3 separate regions of the Homo sapiens genome follow, and all the other regions are linked to region 2. The links are contacts of gene promoters, found by promoter capture Hi-C in human tissues and cell types (Jung and others, 2019). All regions are on one chromosome and are shown on one strand. Each heading gives the region's core, a stretch centred on a gene start or on the middle of the fragment in contact. The rest is flanking DNA. Distances are from core to core; before and after follow the strand shown. Region 1 overlaps PPM1F (protein phosphatase, Mg2+/Mn2+ dependent 1F). Region 2 holds the start of PPIL2 (peptidylprolyl isomerase like 2). Region 3 overlaps PPM1F (protein phosphatase, Mg2+/Mn2+ dependent 1F).

The links. Contacts are between HindIII fragments. The study calls those that stand out against the background at their distance.
Region 1: a fragment that was not itself captured here is called in contact with the fragment with the promoter of PPIL2 in region 2 in 2 of the 25 tissues and cell types used here (dorsolateral prefrontal cortex and lymphoblastoid cells).
Region 3: a fragment that was not itself captured here is called in contact with the fragment with the promoter of PPIL2 in region 2 in 1 of the 25 tissues and cell types used here (lymphoblastoid cells).

What each region holds. Positions count from the first base shown.
Region 1 is chr22:21,928,450-21,931,908 of GRCh38, reverse strand. PPM1F (protein phosphatase, Mg2+/Mn2+ dependent 1F) reads left to right here. Exons shown (of 8, transcript NM_014634.4): 6 at 618-761. Among named protein-coding and RNA genes, the nearest start is that of PPM1F-AS1, 8.1 kb to the left of the region's middle. The HindIII fragment of the contact is 5,175 bases long and covers 1-3,459 here.
Region 2 is chr22:21,664,166-21,667,375 of GRCh38, reverse strand. It overlaps PPIL2 (peptidylprolyl isomerase like 2), which reads right to left and starts at 1,364. Exons shown (of 20, transcript NM_014337.4): 1 at 1,245-1,364. The coding sequence starts at 1,276. RefSeq lists enhancers at 928-977, 1,048-1,287, 522-1,432. The HindIII fragment of the contact is 22,549 bases long and covers 1-3,210 here.
Region 3 is chr22:21,945,273-21,948,430 of GRCh38, reverse strand. It overlaps PPM1F (protein phosphatase, Mg2+/Mn2+ dependent 1F), which reads left to right. Exons shown (of 8, transcript NM_014634.4): 2 at 2,323-2,588. The coding sequence starts at 2,383. Among named protein-coding and RNA genes, the nearest start is that of PPM1F, 6.0 kb to the left of the region's middle. The HindIII fragment of the contact is 4,794 bases long and covers 1-3,158 here.

The DNA.
Region 1 (3,459 bases), core at 45-2,544, 260 kb before region 2:
CCCAGGAGATGGAAGTTGCAGTGAGCTGAGACTGTGCCACTGCACTCCAGCCTGGGTGACAGAGCAAGATTTTGCCTCTAAATAAATAAATAGCCAGGCGCAGTGACTCACGCCTGTAATCCTAGCACTTTGGGAGGCCAAGGCAGGCAGATTGCCTGAGCTCAGGAGTTCAAGACCAGCCTGGGAAAGAAACATGGCAAAACCCCGTCTCTACTAAAAACACAAAAAATTAGCCAGGCGTGGTGCTGTACGCCTGTAATCTTAGCTACTTGGGAGGCTGAGGCAGGAGAATCACTTGAACCCGGGAGGCGGAGGTTGCACTGAGCCGAGATTGTGCCACTGCAGCCCAGCCTGAATGACAGAGCAAGACTCTGTCTCTAAATAAATAAATAAATAAATAAATAAACATCTTTATTGAGATACAATTGACAGGTAGTAAGTGGTGCATATTTGAAGTCCACAATTTGGCAAGTTTTGGCTTATACACATATACACCTGTGGATTCCTCACCACAGTAACGGAAGTATTCATCACCCCCGGAAGCTTCATCCTGCCCCGTGTCATCCTCTGCCCTTCCCTACCTCCTCTCAACTCTCATGGGCCCTCTCTCCCTGCAGCGGCTGCAGAGCGGCACCACAGGTGTGTGTGCGCTCATTGCAGGAGCGACCCTGCACGTCGCCTGGCTCGGGGATTCCCAGGTCATTTTGGTACAGCAGGGACAGGTGGTGAAGCTGATGGAGCCACACAGACCAGAACGGCAGGTAAGGGGATCCCTGCGCCCAGGCCCAGGATATTCCTGGCCTCCATCATGCTGGGCCCATAGGGGAACCCCACCCAGCCTGGGAACTTCAGGTAGTAGTAATCCTGGCACCTTTCAAGAGGGAGGGCTCCCTGCCTGATTTGAGTGGCCGGGGGTCCCACGTGAGCCCTTCCTGAGAGCTCTGTGGGTCACAGCTATATGGAGCCCAGAGCTCCGGGGGAGAGCAGAGCCCTCTGCACTGACAGGCATCCCAGTGCAGTCAGTGCAGCCCAGTGCAGACCAGAGCCCATCATACACACGGACAAGGAGGCCACAGGCTGTGGGTGAGGAAGGCCTCAGGGAGGTGATGCTGCCCCGAGGCTGGAGGGAACCTGGCTTGGGGCTGTACTGACTAGAGGCTGCCTGGGACCCTGGCACTCAGGTCATCACCTGGACATGAGGATGACAGTCCCACTCAGACCTCTTCTCAGAAGACTGTCTCATCCATGTGTCTCCTGAGGTTGGATTGCGAGCATTCAGATATCATGGAATGACTGTTTATCCCTCAAACCCCACTTTTCCCACGTGCTGTTCTCCACCAGCTATGTTTGATTAACCATGCACATGGTGGATAATTCTACGTCAGCACATAGGAGCACCCATCCTTTCTTGGGGCTGCGGACATTGCATTCATCATGCAGTCCCTTGTGGGTGAGCATGAAGATCTTTTCAGTCTTTCGGTGCTAAAAACAATGCATCTCTACCTACTTTGTGCAGCATTAATTGCTCAGAGTCAAGTGTACCTATATCTGTAGGACACATCCCCAGAAGTGGGATGGCTAGGTTGGAACTGATGCACGTACAGTCTGGGTAGATTTGCCAAGCTTCCCACCTCAGGCCATGCCAGCCTGGGCTGGCACTACATTCCCAAGAAGGTCCATTTCCCCACAGTCTCACCAGGCTGCAGGATTCTTCCTGTCAGGTAAGAAGCCTGTCTTGGGGCAATTGTTAAGTTTGCTTTTCTGTTACAGAGTGAGTTTGAGCGTGTTTTCAAAAGCTGAAGATCATTTACACAGCCTTTCCTGCAAACACTGTTTTTTTCCTTTGCCTGTTTTTCTTATCAGTTTATAGGTTCCTTGTATATGTGAAGGAGGTTGGTTCCTTGTCTGTGATGATTTGCAAATGTTTTTCCATGCATCTTTTATTTTTGTTTATGGGCTTTTGCCACATGGAGGCTTTGTGTTTTTCTGTAGTTGAGTAGTCTTTTTGTGGCTTCTGGTTTGGAAAGCACATAGAGACACCAGGACTTGATGATTGTAACAGTCAGGGGCAGCTACATTCCTTGGCCTTTCACTGCGGCTCACGGTCTGGTATGGGCCCCCTGTACGTCCTCTCCCCATTGTACAGAGGAGAAAACTGAGGCTCAGTCACTTGCCCAGAGCACACCGCCAAAGTCACAGATAGTCTCTGCCACTCCCCTGCCTCCACCACCGTGGGGGAATTTGGCACCTGCTCCCTAGTGGGCTCTCCTCCCCAGGATATGCAGTCAGATGAAATGTGGCCAAGTCAGGATTCGTGCTGGGCCCACTCCCACCTGCTGCCTGCACACCTACAGGCTCAGCATTCAGCACCCCATTAAAGCCCAGTGGGGGCTCTGTTCAAACACTGCCTGAGTCCTGCAGTATGGCGTCGTGGCAGAGCATGGACAGATGGCCTTGCCTGGTCCCGGCTCCACCGCTTCCAAGTCCATCACACAGGGGTCCCTGGAGGTTTGGGGTAAGGATTGAGTGTCCCAGTGCATGTGGAGCACAGAGATCAGAGCTTGCACAAGAGAAGCACACACAGGTGTCTGTGTTCTTGGCTGCAGCCCGCATGGGCCAAGGAGTTCAGATCCAGTGCCCCCCACCTCCCCTTTCCTGCCGCCATGCTCTGTAGGCTTGGCCCCTCCTGCTGTGATCCTGATCACAGCCTTCCACCCTAGAGAATTAATCACAGATCCAGGCCAAGGTTCTCCCACAAAAACAAGCATCATGTCGGTTACAAGAGCAAGAAACTGGCCTCAACTTGGCGAGCTTCAACGGGGGTCCAGCAGCGGCCCAGAGCAGCTTCCAGGAGTACGTGGGGGGAGTGCGTGGTGCTCTGCCTTGTTCTGCGGCTGTCTGAACAGTCTCCTGCCTCTGCACTCAGTTCAGCCTCCAAACACTGAGTGCCCACTCTGCACAAGATACTTTGTTGAGGCAGTGAGATAACACAGGACCCACTTCCTGCCTCTAAGTCTAATGGGGGAGCAGGAGGAGGGCAAGGACCTGGCAGGATGAGGCAGAGAGATGAATGGAATGGAGCCGCATCTCAGGCAGTTGCAATTCCTGCAGGCCAGGGGAGAGACCAGGAGGAAAGGGCAGGTTATGCCAGAATCAGGGCCAGGTGTGGAGGTGTGCCCCAAGTGATCCTCCCACCTCTCAAGCCTCAGGAGACAGGAGGATGGCTTGAGCCCTAGAGGTTGAGGCTGCAGTGAGCTATGTTCATGACACTGCACTCCAGCCTTGGCAACAGAGTGAGACCCTGTCTTCAAAAAACAAAAACAAGCCCCAGAATCAGTGGGTAGAAGACTCGGGGCAGGGGAGAAGACCACCCACCTGCTGCTCCTTCAGCTGGAAAAGCTGGACTGCCCCAGGCTGGGAGGAACTCTGTAAGGACTCACTAGAAGCTTCTGAAGTGAT
Region 2 (3,210 bases), core at 115-2,614:
GAGACCAGCCTGACCAACATGGAGAAACCCCTTCTCTACTAAAAATACAAAATTAGCTGGGCATGGTGGCGTATGCCTGTAATCCCAGCTACTCGGGAGGCTGAGGCAGGAAAATCTCTTGAAGCCGGGAAGCGGAGGTTGCGGTGAGCCAAGATCTCACCATTGCACTCTAGCTTGGGCAACAAGAGCGAAACTGCGTCTCAAAAAAAAAAAAAAAAAAAAATGAGGACTGAGGATTGAATACTATATTTAGCAACAAGAAGTCGCTGGGAACCTGAAAAGAGAGGCCGCTGAAGTCGAGAGAAAACAAAGAGCAGGTGAAATCCCAGATACCAAAGGAGGGCTTCAGAAAGAGGGAGTGGTCAACGGTGTGACATACTGTTGAGAAGCCCAACAGTTCTGGGGTCGAAATTCTGACTTGAGTGGTTTCAAGAGACTCAGAAAACAGCATGAAGCCACTAGTCTCTCACTTGTTCTTAAGAGAAACAACACGGCGGCAGCGGGAGGGGAACGTGGGACGTGGGGCACGGGGCACGGGTGGATTTTTAAATTTTATTTATTATTTTTGAGACAGCGTCTCGCTCTGTCGCCCAGGCTGGAGTGCAGTGACACGATCTCGGCTCACCGCAACCTCCGCCTCCCGGGTTCAAGCGATTCCCCTGCCTCAGCCTCCCAAATAGCTAGGATTACAGGCGCCCGTCACCACGCCCCGCTAATTTTTGTATTTTTAGTAGAGACGGGGTTTCACCGTATTAGCCAGGCTGGTCTTGAACTCCTGACCTCAGGTGATCCGCCCGCCTCGGCCTCCCAAAGTGCTGTGATTACAGGTGAGCCACTGCGCCCGACCTGGTTTGCTTTAAATTAGAAGGCTCTGCAGCACGTTTGCAGGCTGATAGGCATGAACCAGAACACAGCGAGACGTGAAGTACGGAAGAGGTAGAGACTACTCATTCAAGGGCGAAACTCGCGAACAGACGGGGGACGGTCCGGGCAGAACCAGAGTAAGGAAAACCGGGCTGCGCTCGAGCCCGCAGCTGACGTCATCGGAGCCGCGGCCCCGGGAGAGCGCGGCGGCCCGAGGGTCATTACCCTGACTGGAGACAGGGCGGCAGCTTCCGGGAGGAAGTGACCTTTGGGCTGTGCTCTGGGGAGTAGCTGAGAGGGAAGGCGAGCGGCGCGCAGTGCGGGACAGGCGGTTCACTGAGGCAGAGTGGAGCGCCGCTCCCGACTGCGGCTCAACTTACATTTTGTCCTTTTGGTGCTGTCGCTTCCCCATGGCGGAGCGGCGGCGGCGACTAGCGAGCACGAAAAAACAACGGCTGACAACTCAGACCATGGAGCCGCAGCCGAGTTCCGTGACCACTTCCGGGTTCCGCGGCGCGCCCCGGAAACGGGCGCCTGGCGTGCTGGGAATTGTGGTTCGCTAGCGCCAGGTGCTCATGCTCGGAAGGATCGCCTGCCCAGTATGGGGTCCTAGCTAGGTGTGCCATCTCCCGCAGGCGTCTTTTCGGGGCCGAGCTCCCTCAGCCTCGAAGCCCCATCTTCTTGAGGGGTCTGTCTGGACCGCCTTGTCTACCCCCCTAGCCACGGCTCAGGGCCATTCCCATACTGGGTTCTCAGGTCTTATTTATTTATTTTCGAGACAGGGTCTCGCTCTGTCGCCCAGGTTGGAGTGCAGTGGCACAATCACAGCTCACTACTGCCTCGACCTCCCAGGCTCAAGCGATTCTCCCACCTCAGCCTCCCGAGTAGCTACGGGCACGCACCACCACACCCGGCTAATTTGTTAATTTTTTGTAGAGACAGGCTCTTACAATGTTGCCCAGGCTGGTCTGGAGCTCTTGAGCTCAAGCAGTCCTCCCGCCTTGGCCTCCCAAAGTGCTGGGATTACAGGCCTGAGGCTTCGCGCCCGGCCAGCGCTCAGGTCTTTTTCAACGTCCTCCTAGAGCTTCAAGTCTCATGAGCCTCCACCCCATCCCTTCCCGCCTCCGTGGCAGATGCCTTCAAAGCCATGTACCACTCTCGTTCTACTCGCTCACTTCTCATTCTCTCTGCATATTCGGTCCCCACCGCCTCCAGGCCCCTCGGAGGCCCAGCAGCAGGTGGCCATCAAGCCTAGAGGTCCAAAGCCCTACCTGATCCCTTCCGTCTCTTCTGCCAGACCCTTCCCTTGGGTCAGATCAGTACCTTGGGCCCCTAGCTACACTCAGGCCCAGGGTAATCTTGCCTAGGCTCCTAATTTTAAATGCCATTTGTATCCCATGACTCCCAGTACTAAGTCACCAGCACTCCAGGTTCCTGATCTCCACTTGGGTAACCACTGATCTGAAATGTAACATGTCTGGATGGGCGTGGTGGCTCACGCCTGTAATCCCAGCACTTTGTGTGTGTGTGTGTGTGTGTGTGTGTGTGTGTGTTTAGTAGAGACGGGGTTTCACCATGTTAGCCAGGATGGTCTCGATCTCCTGACCTCCTGATTCGCCTGCCTTGGCCTTCCAAAGTTCCGGGATTACAGGCGTGAGCCACCACGCCCGGCCAATCCCAGCACTTTGAGAGGCTGAGGCAGGCGGATCACTTGAGGTCAGGAGTTCAAGACTAACCTGGCCAACATGGCAAAACCCCATCTCTACTAAAAATACAAAAAATTAGCCTGGTGTGGTGGCACACACCTGTAATTCCAGCTACTTGGGAGGCCGAGACAGTAGCTTGAACTGGGGAGGCAGAGGTTGCCGTGAGCCAAGATTAGGCCACTGCATCCCAGCCTGGGTGACAGAGTGACTCTGCCTAAAAAAATTAAATTAACATGTCTGGTCAAAGTAGAATTTTCTTTTTTTTTTTCTTTTTTTTTTTGACATGGAGTTTTGCTCTTGTTGCCCAGGCTGGAGTGCAATGGTGTGATCTTGGCTCACTGCAACCTCCGCCTCCCAGGTTCAAGCGATTCTCCTGCCTCAGTCTCCCAGGTAGCTGGGATTATTACAGGCATGCGCCACCACGCCTGGCTAATTTTGTATTTTTAGTAGAGAAGGGGTTTCTCCATGTTGGTCAGGCTGGTCTCGAACTCCCGACCTCAGGTGATCCTCCCGCCTCAGCCCTCCCAAAGTCCTGGGATTACATGCATGAGTCACCGCACCCGGCCATAAAGCAGAATTTTCAATCCTCCCTCTTCTCCCAGTCCCCACTCTGCTGAGCAGTACCACCATCCACCCAGTC
Region 3 (3,158 bases), core at 83-2,582, 280 kb before region 2:
TCTCCAGCTCACAGTCTTCCCTTTGTCGTTTGAATGTCAGTGTCCCTCCTGCTCTCAAAGTGATTTTTCCTTTTTTGCTTTATGTTCTTTTTTTTTCTTTTTTGGTAGAGATGGGGGGTGGGGGGGGGGTGGCGATCTCACTGCCCAGGCTGGTCTTGAACTCCTGGCCTCAAGCACTCCTCCTGCCTCACCCTCCCCAAGCGCTGAGATATAGACCTGAGCCACAGCGCCTTGCCAGTTGTTTTATGTTCTTTATCCTTTTACCTGCTTGCCTTCTGTAACCTGGGTTGCATTAAATTTACTCCTACTTGTGAGTAAATGTGAACCATAGCAATAAATTTAGTCTATCCCCAGAACCTTCAGTAGCAAGCACCCCTATTCCTACGTTATTTGTATGTGTCCACTTTAAATAAATTACCTTTCAATTCTGCCTCTAAAAGAAGAGAAGGGTTTTGTGTTTTGTTAATTTACCACCCTTCACCCCTTGCATTCCAAATCCCTCACTGATCAGACATTTAACTTGGTGCTGGGACCTTTCCCTCTGCCCACCCCATTCTCTTTTGTGTTTTTTATCTTTAGGCTTCCAGAAGGCTTGTTCCAAGTTAGCAATTCCTGATAAGGACAGCCCTCTTGTGGGCTGTGAGCTCCCTGCATCTCTTACTTCCCACTCTCTTCATCCTGCACCTCAGGCCCCTGCCACAGCCGCCCTTTTAGCAAAGTTTGTAGGCAGAGTCTGTGGCTATTCTAAGACTGATGATTCTAGAAGATTCTCCTTGCCTTCTTCGTTCAGTTTTCAGAACCTGGAAGTCCTCATGAAGGTGATGGGCTGTGAAACTGTTCCCCAAATTCTCCACCCTAGAACTCGGGGTGTTCCTCAGAGTCTCATGTCCGTTTGTCACCATAAAAGAATGCAGTTTTTCTCCCTGGCTTAGTAACTGTGTAGGATTTCTTTTTTATTTTTTTCTGGATCCAATCTCATCCACTACTGCGTAGGACTCGCTGAATAAAGTTTCCCAGCCTGAGTGTTAGACAAAGCCCAAGGTGGAGTCCCCGCTGTGGGGAGGGTTTGGAGGGGTCAGGCACCCGAGAGGAAGGGGGCAGGAGAGAGAAGGGTCCATGCTGAGTGGGTGCTGGCAGGGAGGCCCAGGTGTGGGGCCTGGAGGTGAATCCCCGGGGCGACGCAAAGAACATGGAAGGGGGGGCGCTGGAGAGCTGTTTGGGTATAGGCAAGGCAGGCAGGCTGGGGAGGCGACTATGGAGATTCGGAGTTAGGAGAGAAGAGGAGCCAGAGCCACCCTGGGAGGAGGCTGTGAGGCACCATGTGCCTCTTTCCAGTGAGAGAGAAGCCGGTGAGGGAGTGAAGGCACAGGCTTTGCGATCCCTCTTTGGCCCTGTCTTCCTTCTGACACCTCAGGCGAGGGACTAACCCTCTCCAAACCTTGGGATTCTCATCTGTGAAATGGGGGCTTGTCCTGGCTCCTGGGGTGTTAGGGGCAACTCCCAGGGCTGGTCAGCTCTGGTCATCCCTAAGGACTTAGGGAGGAAGAGCCCACATGCCGCACAGTGGGGTCAGCGCCTGGAACTGTCCACAGTGCCCCTCTTCCAGCCAGGGCTTAGCAGGCCTGAGCCATTCTAGGCTCACAATTCCCTCCTCCTATTAGAGAGCATTGAATAGGCTCGATGGTGTCCCACAGCACCTCCTGTCTGTCCCAGATTAAACCTCTGCTTCTCTCCTGGCCACCCCTTGGGTGGCCCCAGCAGCCTCTGGGGATCCCTTCCTGCTCCCACTCTGGCCTATCTCCAAAACAGCCCTGGGCCGGCCTCCCGCATCTTGGCCCTTCTCTTTCCTCCCCTGAACACCACTAGAGCCCCAACAGGTGTCCCTCCTGCCATCTGGTCACCACGTCCAGGCTCACAGACCTGGTGGCTTCACTCCCTCACCTCAGAGCCCTCCTGGCTGCTCGGGACCCGTGATCAGGTTGAACCCCCTCACCTACCTCAGTGCCTGGCCTCGGCATCCCTGTCCTGCTCGTCTCTGGCCACGCTGGCCACCCTCTGCCAGGAACAGTCTTCCTCCTCTGTCACTTCTTGACAATGTCCACCCAGCTGCTGCTCCTGGCACCATCTCCTGAGACCGGATCTCTGGATGCCCACAAGTCCCCACCTGGACTCATGTCAAAACAGTGGCCAGGGTTGTCCCTCCACCCTCTAGTGGCCCTGAACCATGAGGCCATGCACCTGCCACATGGTGCTTGCAGGTGGGCACCTGCATTGCTGGTGCCATGGCCCCCTGATTCTGCTGACTCTGACATTTCTCCCCAGGGTGAAGCCTGGAGACCCTCTTGCCCTGGCCTAGCTGCAGGCCCCCGGGATGCTTTGGGCATGTCCTCTGGAGCCCCACAGAAGAGCAGCCCAATGGCCAGTGGAGCTGAGGAGACCCCAGGCTTCCTGGACACGCTCCTGCAAGACTTCCCAGCCCTGCTGAACCCAGAGGACCCTCTGCCATGGAAGGCCCCAGGGACGGTGCTCAGCCAGGAGGAGGTGGAGGGCGAGCTGGCTGAGCTGGCCATGGGCTTTCTGGGCAGCAGGTAGGCCTGTGCACCCCCAAAGGGGACGGGGAGTAAGGGCACGGCACCAGGGCCGACAAGGGATGTGGCTGCTGCTCCCCTACACGTCCAGCCCCACACGGGGATCTGCAGCCCCGGATCCCTATGCAGCACCATGTGGAACTCCCGTGGCTGCTATGGCAAAGCACCACACACTGGGCACTCAACACAGCCAAAGCTCATTCTTTCACAGGGCTGGAGGCCAGAGTCCAAGATCAAGGTGGCAGCTGCGCCATGCTCTCTCAAAGGCTGCAGGGAAGAGTCTGCCTTTCTGTTAGTGCCTGGCCTTGACTTCCTGGAGGTCCTTGGCTTGTAGACTCATTCCTCCTAGCTGGCCTTGTTGCACACGGCATCTCCCCATGTGTGTGTCTGTGCCTTCACACCTCCCCACCCTGCCTGCTGTGTGTCTGTGACTCCTCCTCTTGTAAGGACATGGGCATTTTGGACCAGGGGCTGCCCTCCTACAGTGTGATCTCATCTTTCTTTTTGTGGAGAATGGGGTCTCGCTATGCTGCCCAGGCTGGTCTCGAATTTCTGGGCTCCATGGATCCT